Linked DNA regions of Homo sapiens: region 1 is linked to region 2. The links are contacts of gene promoters, found by promoter capture Hi-C in human tissues and cell types (Jung and others, 2019). All regions are on one chromosome and are shown on one strand. Each heading gives the region's core, a stretch centred on a gene start or on the middle of the fragment in contact. The rest is flanking DNA. Distances are from core to core; before and after follow the strand shown. Region 1 overlaps GBF1 (golgi brefeldin A resistant guanine nucleotide exchange factor 1). Region 2 holds the start of NFKB2 (nuclear factor kappa B subunit 2).

Evidence for each region. Contacts are between HindIII fragments. The study calls those that stand out against the background at their distance.
Region 1: a contact is called between a fragment that was not itself captured here and the fragment with the promoter of NFKB2 in region 2, in 4 of the 25 tissues and cell types used here (liver, lymphoblastoid cells, mesenchymal stem cells and 1 more).

Annotation. Positions count from the first base shown.
Region 1 is chr10:102,263,422-102,269,373 of GRCh38, reverse strand. All of the region lies in intron 3 of GBF1 (golgi brefeldin A resistant guanine nucleotide exchange factor 1), which reads right to left. Among named protein-coding and RNA genes, the nearest start is that of GBF1, 21 kb to the right of the region's middle. The HindIII fragment of the contact is 6,652 bases long and covers 74-5,952 here.
Region 2 is chr10:102,394,428-102,400,010 of GRCh38, reverse strand. It overlaps NFKB2 (nuclear factor kappa B subunit 2), which reads right to left and starts at 4,306. Exons shown (of 23, transcript NM_001322934.2): 1 at 4,215-4,306; 2 at 4,031-4,123; 3 at 3,677-3,758; 4 at 3,522-3,562; 5 at 3,188-3,286; 6 at 2,956-3,107; 7 at 2,603-2,709; 8 at 2,326-2,484; 9 at 1,926-2,030; 10 at 1,714-1,799; 11 at 1,488-1,626; 12 at 1,147-1,272; 13 at 514-723; 14 at 293-434. The coding sequence starts at 4,051. RefSeq lists a silencer at 411-730 and enhancers at 1,945-2,239, 3,711-3,830, 4,241-4,290, 5,341-5,583. The HindIII fragment of the contact is 8,929 bases long and covers 1,995-5,583 here.

The DNA.
Region 1 (5,952 bases), core at 2,150-4,649, 130 kb after region 2:
TGCCTTTCCACCAAATCATATGCCAATTTATTGCCCTCTGATGTACAGTCCATTAGGCCACTTCCTGGATGCCCCCACTTCACACTGGGCCAGAAATGCAAGACAATAATGTGAGTTCCACAAACGGGCAAGTAATTGCTCAATAAGCGTGGAACAAGGAAAGGTCAGTTGTGATCTGTGCACATGTGGCAGCCCTTCACAACTCGACCTACAGTGGTAACAGTGGTAACAGAATGCTGATGTTACAGAAGAGACATGCCATGAGAACCCAGCCAACAGACAGCCAGAAGTGCTTGTCCATCTAAGTTCTTTAGGATCTTCAAAGAATAAAGGAAAGGAATAAAGGCCCCTAAACTGGTGAGGTGCAAATTATCTCCTGGTTTCCTAGAGTAAAACTGAGAGCCTAAAGTAGTCATTGCTCTCCATCTATTACCCTTTCTTAATGAAGTGATCTGAGCTGAAATGATCTTATCTCCATTTTGCTCTATAGCCAACTCCATCTTCTAACAGATGCCAGGAGAGAAAAGACAAATGTACTCACCCTTTCCATAAACATATCCACTATCACTTCAGAAACTGGGTTATCAACTAAGTATCTATGAACATAGAGAGATAGTCAGAGGGGGGCAAGGCTGAGACAAACTCTTCACTATCTCTCCTAATCAAAACAACACATTGAATTTCAAGCATTTGGCTTCTTCTGAAACCCTTTTGGCACTTGTCCTGAGTTTGAATGGGTGGAAAAGCAGGAAGGGACTCTGCCTGCCTCCTTGTTTGAAAAAAAAACAGCAGCTGGCTTTCTTTTTACTCATCTGACTGCTGTCATGGTAAGTTGGGCATATACTCAGAAGTTTCAGGCCTCAAGAGGTAGCTGTGCTAAAGAGGACAAATGCAATAAAAACACCAGCAACTTTGATACCCACCACAAACCACACTGTTACACTGCCCCCTAACCTTTGCTACAAAGAAATTAGGTTTCTCTGTTTTTGAGAGCTAAACTATTAAGAATGCTTTTCCCTCTTTTTACACAATTCCTTTTCTGATACATGCAGTAGAAAATGTGCCCCCTCAACAGCCAGGAAACTAGTTCTGATGGCTAAGTGTGCCTGGGTATGAGGAAGAGAAAAAGAGAGAGCTGAACCCATGAGAGGACAGATTATGCAGAGCTGTTTCTTCTCAAGAGTCTTCATTTCCTAACCTTGAGTACAAACAAATGTTTGGAAGAACTTCTTGGTTTAAAAGTGTCAAATGAAGAGCATTCATAAATCATCTGGGGAAGGCCCCAGTAAAAAGAAATGGCAAAATCAAGTCATCAAAATATAGGCCTCTTGGAGCTACCCTTTTAATATGAATAGTCCCTGGGGAAAAAAAGAATCACAGTACCTTTATTCACTCTAACTGTGCTGAAATGTCTACAAGTCTGTGGCCACTCAAGTTACAGAGATTCTAAGGTGCCAAAGTCAGTCTGACTCAAATTCAAGTCACATTCTAATGTATTACTCAACTATAGTTTTATATTATAAACCAAGAAAGTAAAACAGGGCACAGGAAATGGATACTTTTAAGTGTGCCCATTGCCTTTCCTAACACTCAGCCCTTCACAAAATTTGTCTGCCAAATTTTATCACATTTGGTTCTTTTAGTTCCTACTTAGGCCTTGAACAATTCACAAGCTCAATTCCAAGTGGAACAAAAGCTGATGACCCATTCAACCTTCTTCTCATGCTGATTAATAATGATATATTACTTTACTCCCTAAACTATAGACCCCTGTAGGAAAAAATAAAAGTAGGCACTTAATCAATAGGACTCCAGCAAATTTTTTTCATATAACATACTCGCTTTTGTTGTTGTTGTTGTTGTTGTTGTTGAGATGGAGTCTTGATCTGCCACCCAGGCTGGAGTGCAGTGGCACGATCTCAGCTCACTGCAATCTCACCTCCTGGGTTCAAGCAATTCACCTGCTTCAGCCTCCTGAGTAGCTGGGACTACAGGCATGCGCCACCGCACCTGGCTAATTTTTGTATTTTTAGTAGAGACAGGGTTTCACCATGTTGGCCAGGCTGGTCTCGAACTGCTGACCTCAAGTCATCCACCCGCCTTAGCCTCCCAAAGTGCTGGGATTACAGGTGTGAGCCACCATGCCTGGCACATATAATATACTCTTATTCAATCTTTTTCCTGACAATGACTACTAAAATCTCTTTTCTCTACACCTCCCCATTTTCCAAATGAAACAGATTAAACTTGAGGTATCAGGCATTCTCAAACAGTTTCTTTTCTACCTAAGCGGCTACTGCTAAGAGGCCCAGGCCAGACAGGTGTTAAGTCATAGTTCCTCCCAAGTTGGCTTCCAGACTCTGTTTAAATGTTCTCTGCAAACCTCTGGAGGTTAGATGGACTCAAACCTCCTAGCTCAGACTCTGAATTCACAAAGCTTGAGACAGACAGTACCCTACAGGTGTGTTTGTCCAGGATAAACTATACTTAAATAAACTCCTGACACATCCACTTTCTCCTGGCACGTGCTTCTCCCTCTTAAACTCAAGCACGCCATAACCTGCTGTCCCAGTAAGCTCTGTAAAGAAATATCCTATCCCCCAGAATTACGCTATGCAACCCACCAATGTCTTTGGGAATAGCTAAACTCTGGCCATAACAGCTTTACATGTGAAAGCCAAATAAGCAAATATGAGCTATTGTTTTTACTTATTTCTTTGGCTTGTTCCTTAAGGAAAGAGCAGGAATAAGAAAAGCTGGCAGCAGATTGCTCTCACTCATGGTCATCCATTCCATGCCTGATAGGGACCATATAGCATAAAGTAGAGGCTACAAAATGTTAGCTTTGGAATGATCAGCTAGAGTCATTAGTCCTGTCAAACCAGTGGCTATGAGGGCAGGAAGTCTGACTGATTGTTTACCATTACAGACCCACTTCCTAAGTACCTAAGAAAAATGCCTGGCACATACCAGATAGTCAATAAATATCAGTTAGAAGCAACTCAATAAGCTAGGCCCTGAAGGAATCCAAATCTTGGAGAATCCCCAAAAGAAAAGGTCTAAGAAGCTAGAACAATGTTATAGTTAATATGGGTACCTATACTGGGCCTCAAGACCACCTTAGTTTTTTTTTTTGAGACAGAGTATCGCTCTGTCACCCAGGCTGGAGTGCAGTGGCACGATCTCGGCTCACTGCAAGCTGCGCCTCCCAGGTTCAGGCCATTCTCCTGCCTCAGCCTCCCGAGTAGCTGGGACTACAGGCGCCTGCCACCATGCCCGACTAATTTTTTGTATTTTTTTAGTAGAGACGGGGTTTCACCGTGTTCGCCAGGATGGTCTCAATCTCCTGACCTCGTGATCTGCCCGCCTCGGCCTCCCAAAGTGCTGGGATTACAGGCGTGAGCCACCGCACCCGGCCCTCCACCTTAGTCTTACACTGAGAACCCCAGTCCTGATAACCAAAACTGGACATTAGGTCCTCAGAGCTAAAAAGACCTGGGACTAAATCTCCAAAGGCAAACTCCTCACCACCACACCCTCACACGCACATAGACACACGCACACCCTAAGAAGTCTTCCTCAAGCCCTGGCCCTGAAGGCTTTAAAGTAAGTCATTAAAAGATGATCCCATAAGAGAAGATTTTGGTTGTGATACTTTCTTTCATTCATTCATTCATTCATTCATTCATTGAAAGGGTCTCACTCTTGTCACTCAGGCTAGAGTACAGTGGCGCAATCATGGGTCACTGTAACCTCGAACTCCTGGGCTCAAGTGATCCTCTCGCCTCAGCCTAAGTAGCTGGAACTACAGTTGTACGCCACCATACCCAACTAATTTTTTTTATTTTTATTTTTGTAGAGATGGGGGGAATCTTGGTATGTTGCCCATGCTGGTCTCGAACTCCCAGCCTCAAGTAATCCTGCTGTCTTGGCCACCCAAAGTGCTAGATTACAGATGTGGGTCACTGCACCTAGCCTGGTTGTGATACTTTTAGACTGTTCCTCTCCTGTTTTAAACCAAAAATTTTCTGGAAAAGAATCTCTTTGTAATGATCTAAGTTTAAAGACCAAGGACAAAGACAGACTATATCTGGAGGCAAATGACTACAACCAAACACCACAACTCACAACTGACTATAGCCCTTTCCATAAAGCTATACTGGATGAAGGGAACTAAGGCTTGCAAGAATTTATCTAGTCTGGGAACAAAGAGATCAAAGACCACAGACCATATTGGCTAGAAGCATTCCCATAAACTGTCTACTCTTGTCAGATCTAAAACCAAGAGCAATATCAAGTATCCTGATATTTCACTTTCCCTTCCATGCCCCATCCCATGCCACAGATCCTACCACAAGGTCTAGCTGCGAGACTGAAGATAACTCCCATATGCAAGAGCCCCAAAAGATTCTTAGAAGAATAAAAGGAAATGTGTCTTTGGAATCTAAACCCATGGCAGGGCTTGGGCAGATGTAAGAGAGAGGCAGTGGCCCTTCTGCCCCTAAGGCCAGGACACCCCAGCCCTGCAGGCAGCACAGAGTTAACTACCCACCCGCTCTGAGAAGCACAAAGGTACATCACTGCAACATGCCTAACATTTACATTGCCTCTCTCTGCTCATTAAACAGGTTTTGGTTAAATAATGAACAAACTGTATTACAGACTCCAATGAGAATTCCAAAATTATAAATCAACTGGGAAAGCCCAAAGGGGCAGACAGACAGGGAGGGGGGAGAAGGATAATATTGACTAATATAAAGGGCGCAGCTTGACAGTGGATATTCCTGCCACACCTGATCAAACACACTCCGTGGGGGGAGGGGAAAGAGAGCAAGAGAGGGAAGATGGGACAAGACAGCCTGAAATTTGCATCCGGAAAAGATTAAAACGGATTCTTTGGGGATAGAGAAAATACATAATATATATTACTATAAATGCAAAACTGTACTAAAAGCTAACTCAAATGTCAAAGATTACAGTTTGAATAAATTTAAATATAAAAGCCATGTGCTTCCTTGAGTTAATGAGAGAGACATAAAAGGACAAACTGGGCCAGAAGCTGAACAGAGCCTTATGCTGCCTTTGCTGGGTAATGGGTCCAAAGCACAGCAGTGACTACAGAGACTTCCCTCCACAGTTCTGAGACCTGAGAAAAAACTGGCAAATCCATCACTTCTGCAGCCTACATTTGCCTCCTTTATAAACTGAGATATGATTCACATACTATAAAATTATCCTTTTCAAGTATACAATTCAGTGGTTTCTTGTATACTCACAAAGTTGTGCAACCATCGCTACTATCTAATTCTAGAACATTTTCATTACCCCAAAAAGGAACCCTGTAGCCATTAGCAGTCACTCTCCATACCCCCTCCCAGCCCCTGGTAACCACACATCTGTTTTAACTCCTTCAGAATAATCTAAAAGGAGTCCTGAGAGGACTTCAAGACCAAATGAGGGACAGCAGTCAAGTCTCTCTCACTGGTGGTAAGCTAAAGCTTTATCCAAAGTAACAGTATGCAAACTTTGCTCTTGGACACCCTTTTTCTTCCAAGAGCAACCCTCTTTTCAAATTTGGTATTATTAGAATATCTTATTACTCTAAATGCTATAGACCTTGTAGTCATCATACAGTTTAGGCAAATACTGACTGTAAATGTGGTCCAATGACATACATCTGTGAGAAAAACTAGTATGGACTTAGCCAACCTTACTGGAGAAAAGGACTTATTTCCTTCACAATAATGAGATAATATTCCTGGAGGAGTAGTGTAGGTAGTACTTATACATTTTAAAGATTCTTTCTACAAAAAGAGAAAAAAAAATCATTTTGGTTTACTGACAATGTCCAATGAACCACCCATTTCCAACAGTGATAGTCTTACCAATCAAGCCAGCAGAAAGCCTAGAAAAATGCAAACAGAAACCCTTTGCAAAAAAGGACCATGTCCA
Region 2 (5,583 bases), core at 3,057-5,556:
CTCATAGTCTCCCTCGCTGGGGCCCATGGAACCCAGCACGTGGCCCAGGGCATCGCTGTGCCTGCACTTAACGTTTCGCAGCACCTTTTGAGGTAGGTAAGTGCTATGACTGTACCCCTTGCACGGTCGACCAAACTGAAGTTTGGAGAGACCAAGCAGCTTGAACAGAGCTTGTGAACACCGAGGCCGGACTTGAAGCCTGGCGTGTCCGAAAACTGCAGAGCCCGCCTCCGTGCCGGTCCCTTTCCTGCCCCCACCCCGCGCCTCGTCCGCCAGGCCCTCTGTTGCCTACGTGTCTCCGTTCTCGTCCTGCGCCGTCAGCAGGTGGCGCTGTCCCGCCAGCAGCGCGCGCGCGTCCGCGGTGACGCCGTAGTCGAGTAGGGCTCGGGCGCTGCGCTGCGCCAGGCCGAACAGGCGCGCGTTGTACTCTCGAGCTACGGGCCACAGAGGGCGTGGGTCAGGGCTAGGTCCTCAGCCCCGGCGCCCCGACCGCCCGTGCCCCGGAGTCCATACCTCGCTGCAGCATCTCCGGGGCCTGCGGCTCGCACTGGGGGGTCCTGGAGGGGGCGCTTGGCTCCGCGGCTTCCTCCCCGGAGTCCCTGCTGGGCACCGTGGCGGCCATCTGCGCCCCGCCCCCGCCTCCCGGGTAGCAGCCCATGGGGCCCGCGCCGGACTGGTAGGGGCTGTAGGCCAGGGAGGAGGGGAAGAAACCGAGGCTGCCACCTGTGGATACAGGCAGGGCTGTGGGAAGCGGGCACCAGCCATGACTCTCCCAGATTTTTTTTTTTTTTTTTTGAGACGGAGTTTCGCTCTTATTGCCCAGCCTGGAGTGCAGTGGTGTGATCTCAGCTTACTGCAACCTCTTGTCTCCCAGGGTTCAAGCGATTCTCCTGCCTCAGCCTCCCGAGTAGCTGGGATTACAGGCGCCTGCCACCATGCCCAGCTAATGTTTGTATTTTTAGTAGAGACGAGGTTTCACGCTGTTGGCCAAGCTGGTCTTGAACTCCTGATCTCAGGTAATCTGCCTGCCTTGGCCTCCCAAAGGGCTGGATTACAGGCGTGAGCCACCACGCCCGGCCTCCCCCAGATTTTTTTCCTCCACAGCTTCTCTTACCTTTACCCCTCCCTCCATCAGTACCCCCTCACCTCCTCCAGCTCCTCCGTAGCCCCCGGCTGCACCCCCAGAGCCTCCACCCATGTGGGAGCCACCCCCGAAGGGCTGGGAGAAGGTGGGCAAGGCCTTCCTCCGCTTCCGCTGCACCTCTTCCTTGTCTGGGGGCAGAGGAAAATGAGATTGAGCCCAGTTATTGTGTCATGCCTCAGGGGCCCTTCCCAGAAGAGCCCTCAGGGCCGGCTCCTAGGAAGCACCTCCTGGGACCCTCGCACTTCTGACTTGGCTCATGCATCCCCACATCTAGCTCTTGGGACCTTCTTCTAGCCCAGCCTGGCCCCCCGCCAGCACCCTGAGGTCCTCAGCCCAGCTCCACCTTCCACCAGAGGGTAATAGGTGAACTGTTTGGAATCAGACACGTCCCCTCCTCGCTTGCGTTTCAGTTGCAGAAACACTGTTACAGGCCGCTCAATCTTCATCTTGTGATAGGGGGGTGTCCGGAACACAATGGCATACTGGGGGGTGCAGGGAGACACAGGGTGTCAGTGAGTCCTTAGCCTAATTTAGCCCCCAGCCCGGGCCCGGGCCCTAGCCCTGGGTACCTGTTTATGCACATCTGTGGGAGAGAAGTCCCCAAAGGCCTGCCATCCATTCTCATCATCCTCATAGAACCGAACCTCAATGTCATCTACAAGGAAAACGGAAGCTTGGCCACAGCTCCCGGTGGAATCTCTGGGGCCATTTACCCTAGAGCTTCCCTGGCCCCAGTCTTATACTCGATGTCCTTGGTGCCCAAAGTGGGCTCCAGTCTCACCTTTCTGCACCTTGTCACAAAGCAGATAAACTTCATCTCCACCCCGCACAGAGCCTGCTGTCTTGTCCATTCGAGAAATCTTCAGGTTTGATGCCCCCGGAGATTCTATGGAGTGGGATATGGATTAGTTGAGATGATGCAATAGCCAAGGCCACATTTAAGAAGCTGGGGGCTTTGTATTCCTTATCTCAGCAACCCCTGGAGCTGCAGGAAACACCCAATATACACATTTACTAAAGACAGAAGCTTCGGGGGGGAAATGACTTGCTCAGGATCACTCAGCTCATATGTGGCAGGGCCAGGTTCTGAAACCTGGGTCTGTTTGACTGCACAGCTTGAGGTCACCCCTCATGCCACCTCTGCCACCAGGCCTGGCACCCCAGGCAATCAGGATACTCACTGCTGTCATGGATGGGCTGGGAGATGACTGGCTTCAGGGGCAGGGAGAAGGAGCCATCACTGGCTCTAAGGAAGGCAGAGAAGCGCAGCCGCACTATACTCAGATCCATCACCTTCTTCAGTTCTTTGGCCTCTTGCTCCAGCTCCCGCTGCTCGGCCTCTGGGCAGTAGGTACATGTGTGACCCCTGGGCTTCTCCCTCCCTGCTCCTTCCATGAGCACCTCCCATGACCCACCCACCCCCTGCACCCATACCCGACCCACCCCCTGCACCCATACCCGTAAGGCCCTGGGGCCTAGAGCGGAGCCGCTGCCTCTGAAGTTTTTGTATCATAGTCCCCATCATGTTCTTCTTAGTCACATGCAGGACACCCAGGTTGTTAAATCTGAGAAGAGAGAATCGGAGGCCTTTGGCCATGCAGTTCTTTCTTCCTGAGGCACCTTTCCCATTGCCAGGGCTCAGCTCAGCCTTACTTCCTCAAGGAAGCCATTGGAGTTTCTACTTAGGCCCTTGGGTTTGGGGCCAACCTACATCTTTCCCCTTGGTCAGATGCTAAGCTCATGGAGGTGGGCTGGGGCCTGGGACTGGCAGACGGGCATACCAGTGGGGGCCAGGCGTAGAGGGCACCTACTGGGCAGTCATGTCCTTGGGCCCCACAGAAACGGCGCAGATCCCCAGCTCCGAGCATTGCTTGCCCACCAGACTGTGGGCATGAGCACGAGGTGGGTCACTGTGTGTTACCAGGTCCACCTCGATCTTGGCTGGTCCCTCGTAGTTACAGATCTAGGAGAGGCAGGGACTGTCAGTCAGGGCCTTGGGCATGCTGTCCACTTAGCCCACCCTCCAGCACCATCCTGGCTCACCTTGACAGTGGGATAGGTCTTTCGGCCCTTCTCACTGGAGGCACCGGGCAGTCCTCCATGGGAGGGGCCTTCACAGCCATATCGAAATCGGAAGCCTCTCTGAAGGTCCAAGGGCATAGTAGCATTGTGATCAGGGAAGACCACCCAGGCCAGCAGTGACCGCAGTGCCTGGTAGTAGCCCTGAACCAAACTACAGCACTCTGATCAGCAGCAGTGACCATCCAATCCCCTGTGGCCTCCTTCGGCAATGGCTCCTCCATGGCCAGCCAGCTACCACTACCCCATTTGTCCCCAAAGCTGAAGCCATTCCACACCCTCCCTTTTGCTCACTCACCTGCTTAGGCTGTTCCACGATCACCAGGTAGGGGCCATCAGCTGGGGACAGAGAGACCTTGCTGAGCCACGATCTCCCAGCCCCTCCCCCAGAGAGAGGGCACATGCTCTCCCTCCCCCGCTTTAGGACTAGGGGAGGTTAGTGAACTTGCTGACCTGTTTCTGGGGCTGGCTCCTTGGGTTCCACAATGGAGGAGTTCAATTTGAAATCATCATATTCAATAATACCATCCAGACCCTGGTTTGGAGACAGACTGGGGGTGGCATCCGACTCTCAGCACCCCCCACAGCCCCACCTCCCATCTCCAAGTCTTCAGTGGTCACTCCCCCCTCCTCCTCAGACCCAAGAGAAAGCTCCTTTTGGAGGCAGAGTTGCAGACAGATGGACAGACTGGCAGGCTGAGAGCATCTGCGAGCATACAGGTGTAAGGCAGCAGAGGGGGCTCGGGCAGACAGGTGGACAGACACGAGGGGCAGCCGGCCGGGTCAGGGGCAGGCGGCATGACTCACTGGGTTGTAGCAACTCTCCATGTCTCTGGGCTAGGCCCGGCTCTGTCTAGTGGCTCCGGCCAGGTTCTGCTTCCCAGAATTTTAGACGCCCGCCTAAAGTTGGGAGGAGTGGCGTGGGGGAGGGGGTCAGATCTAAATGGGGGTGGGCGGGAGATGGGGGCCCAGATTTGGGGGAGGGTCCGACCTCCTCCAGCCGCCTGTCCGGGTGTGGCGGGTGAGATCCGGTGGAGAGCGAGATCCGGAGTTGGGCTTGGCCGGGGAAGGGGCAGGAAAGTTAGAGCAGCTTAGGAAAGTCCCGAAAATACCAAGGGGAGGCGGGGCCGGAGGGGGCGGGCCTGGAAATGACGCCACTGGCCCCGCCCTCGCGACGGGAGGGGCGGGAGGCCCTCGACAGTCTACGGGCTCCCGCTGCTTTTCAGCGGGCAGAGGTCTAGGAGAATCCGGGAAGCCCCGGTGGGGGTTAAGCCCCCTCCTCCCTCCAGGGCAGGGAACAGGAGGGTCTTTCACGGCCGGGAGGAGGCTGGCAGTCTGGGGCCAAGTCCGCCTCCCGCTCCCCTCCCCCGGTCTGGAGCAACCTTGGGATTTTCTGCCAGGAGGGAGGCCACGGCTGATAAACCCCGGGGGCTTTTGGGGGGACATTCCTGCTGTCGGACGGCCTCCCCTTCGAACAGCCTGTAGGCGGGGGCTCTTTCCTGTGGGAGGCCCCGGGGTTCTGCCCCGAGAACGCGATTCTGGGGCTGCGGGAAAAGTGTCTCCTCCTCGGAGTGGGCTCTTTTCTCTCTCTCCCAAACCTCACAACAGCAGCTGGTCCCACACCGCACCGGTTCTGGGCGCGCAGGCGACAGGGAGATCTCTGCACGCTCCCCCCCCCCCCCCCCCACCTAATACAAGAGTGTGTCTCCATCACAGCTCCACAAGTGTGTTTCGGCTGTAGTGCTTGGTTGCATGTTGTGTGTCCATGGCGTCAACATGAGTGTGCAAGCGAGCATGTGTGTAGATAGGTGAATCCCGAGCTTCTCAGTGTGGGTGTGTGTCAGCGCCTGTCTTGATGTACGGACACGGGTGAGCGTATCTTGAGTTTGTGCGTGAAGGGTGTGGGTGCAGGCACCAGTGCACCGGTGGGCACGTCTCCGTGTGCATGTGTGTGCGAGTGCGACTGCACGGACGCTGCCGTGTGTGCGCCAGCACAGGTACAGGTGTACGTACGGGTCCGCGTATCTTTGTACAACGGTGTCGACGTGGATCCGAGTGTCGTCGCCTGCGCGCCCTTTCCGGCTGTGTGCAGCTGCTGCTCTCCAGCCCCAGGCGCTGTCCGCTAAAGGCCCTCCTCCCTCTTTTCTCTTGTCCCGGCCACCCAGGGGTCTGAATCCAGCCACTCACCGTGGCGGCGGCTCTGGTTGCGGCTTCTCTCCGCGCCCGACCCACCTGGGACCGGTCGCGACACCTCGCCTGCCAGCAGGGCTCAGGGCCGGGAAAGCCCCTTCTCGGCCCCCCGGAGGGGGGAATTCCCATGACGTTTCCGTGCGTCACGCCTCGCGCCCTTTTTCATTGGC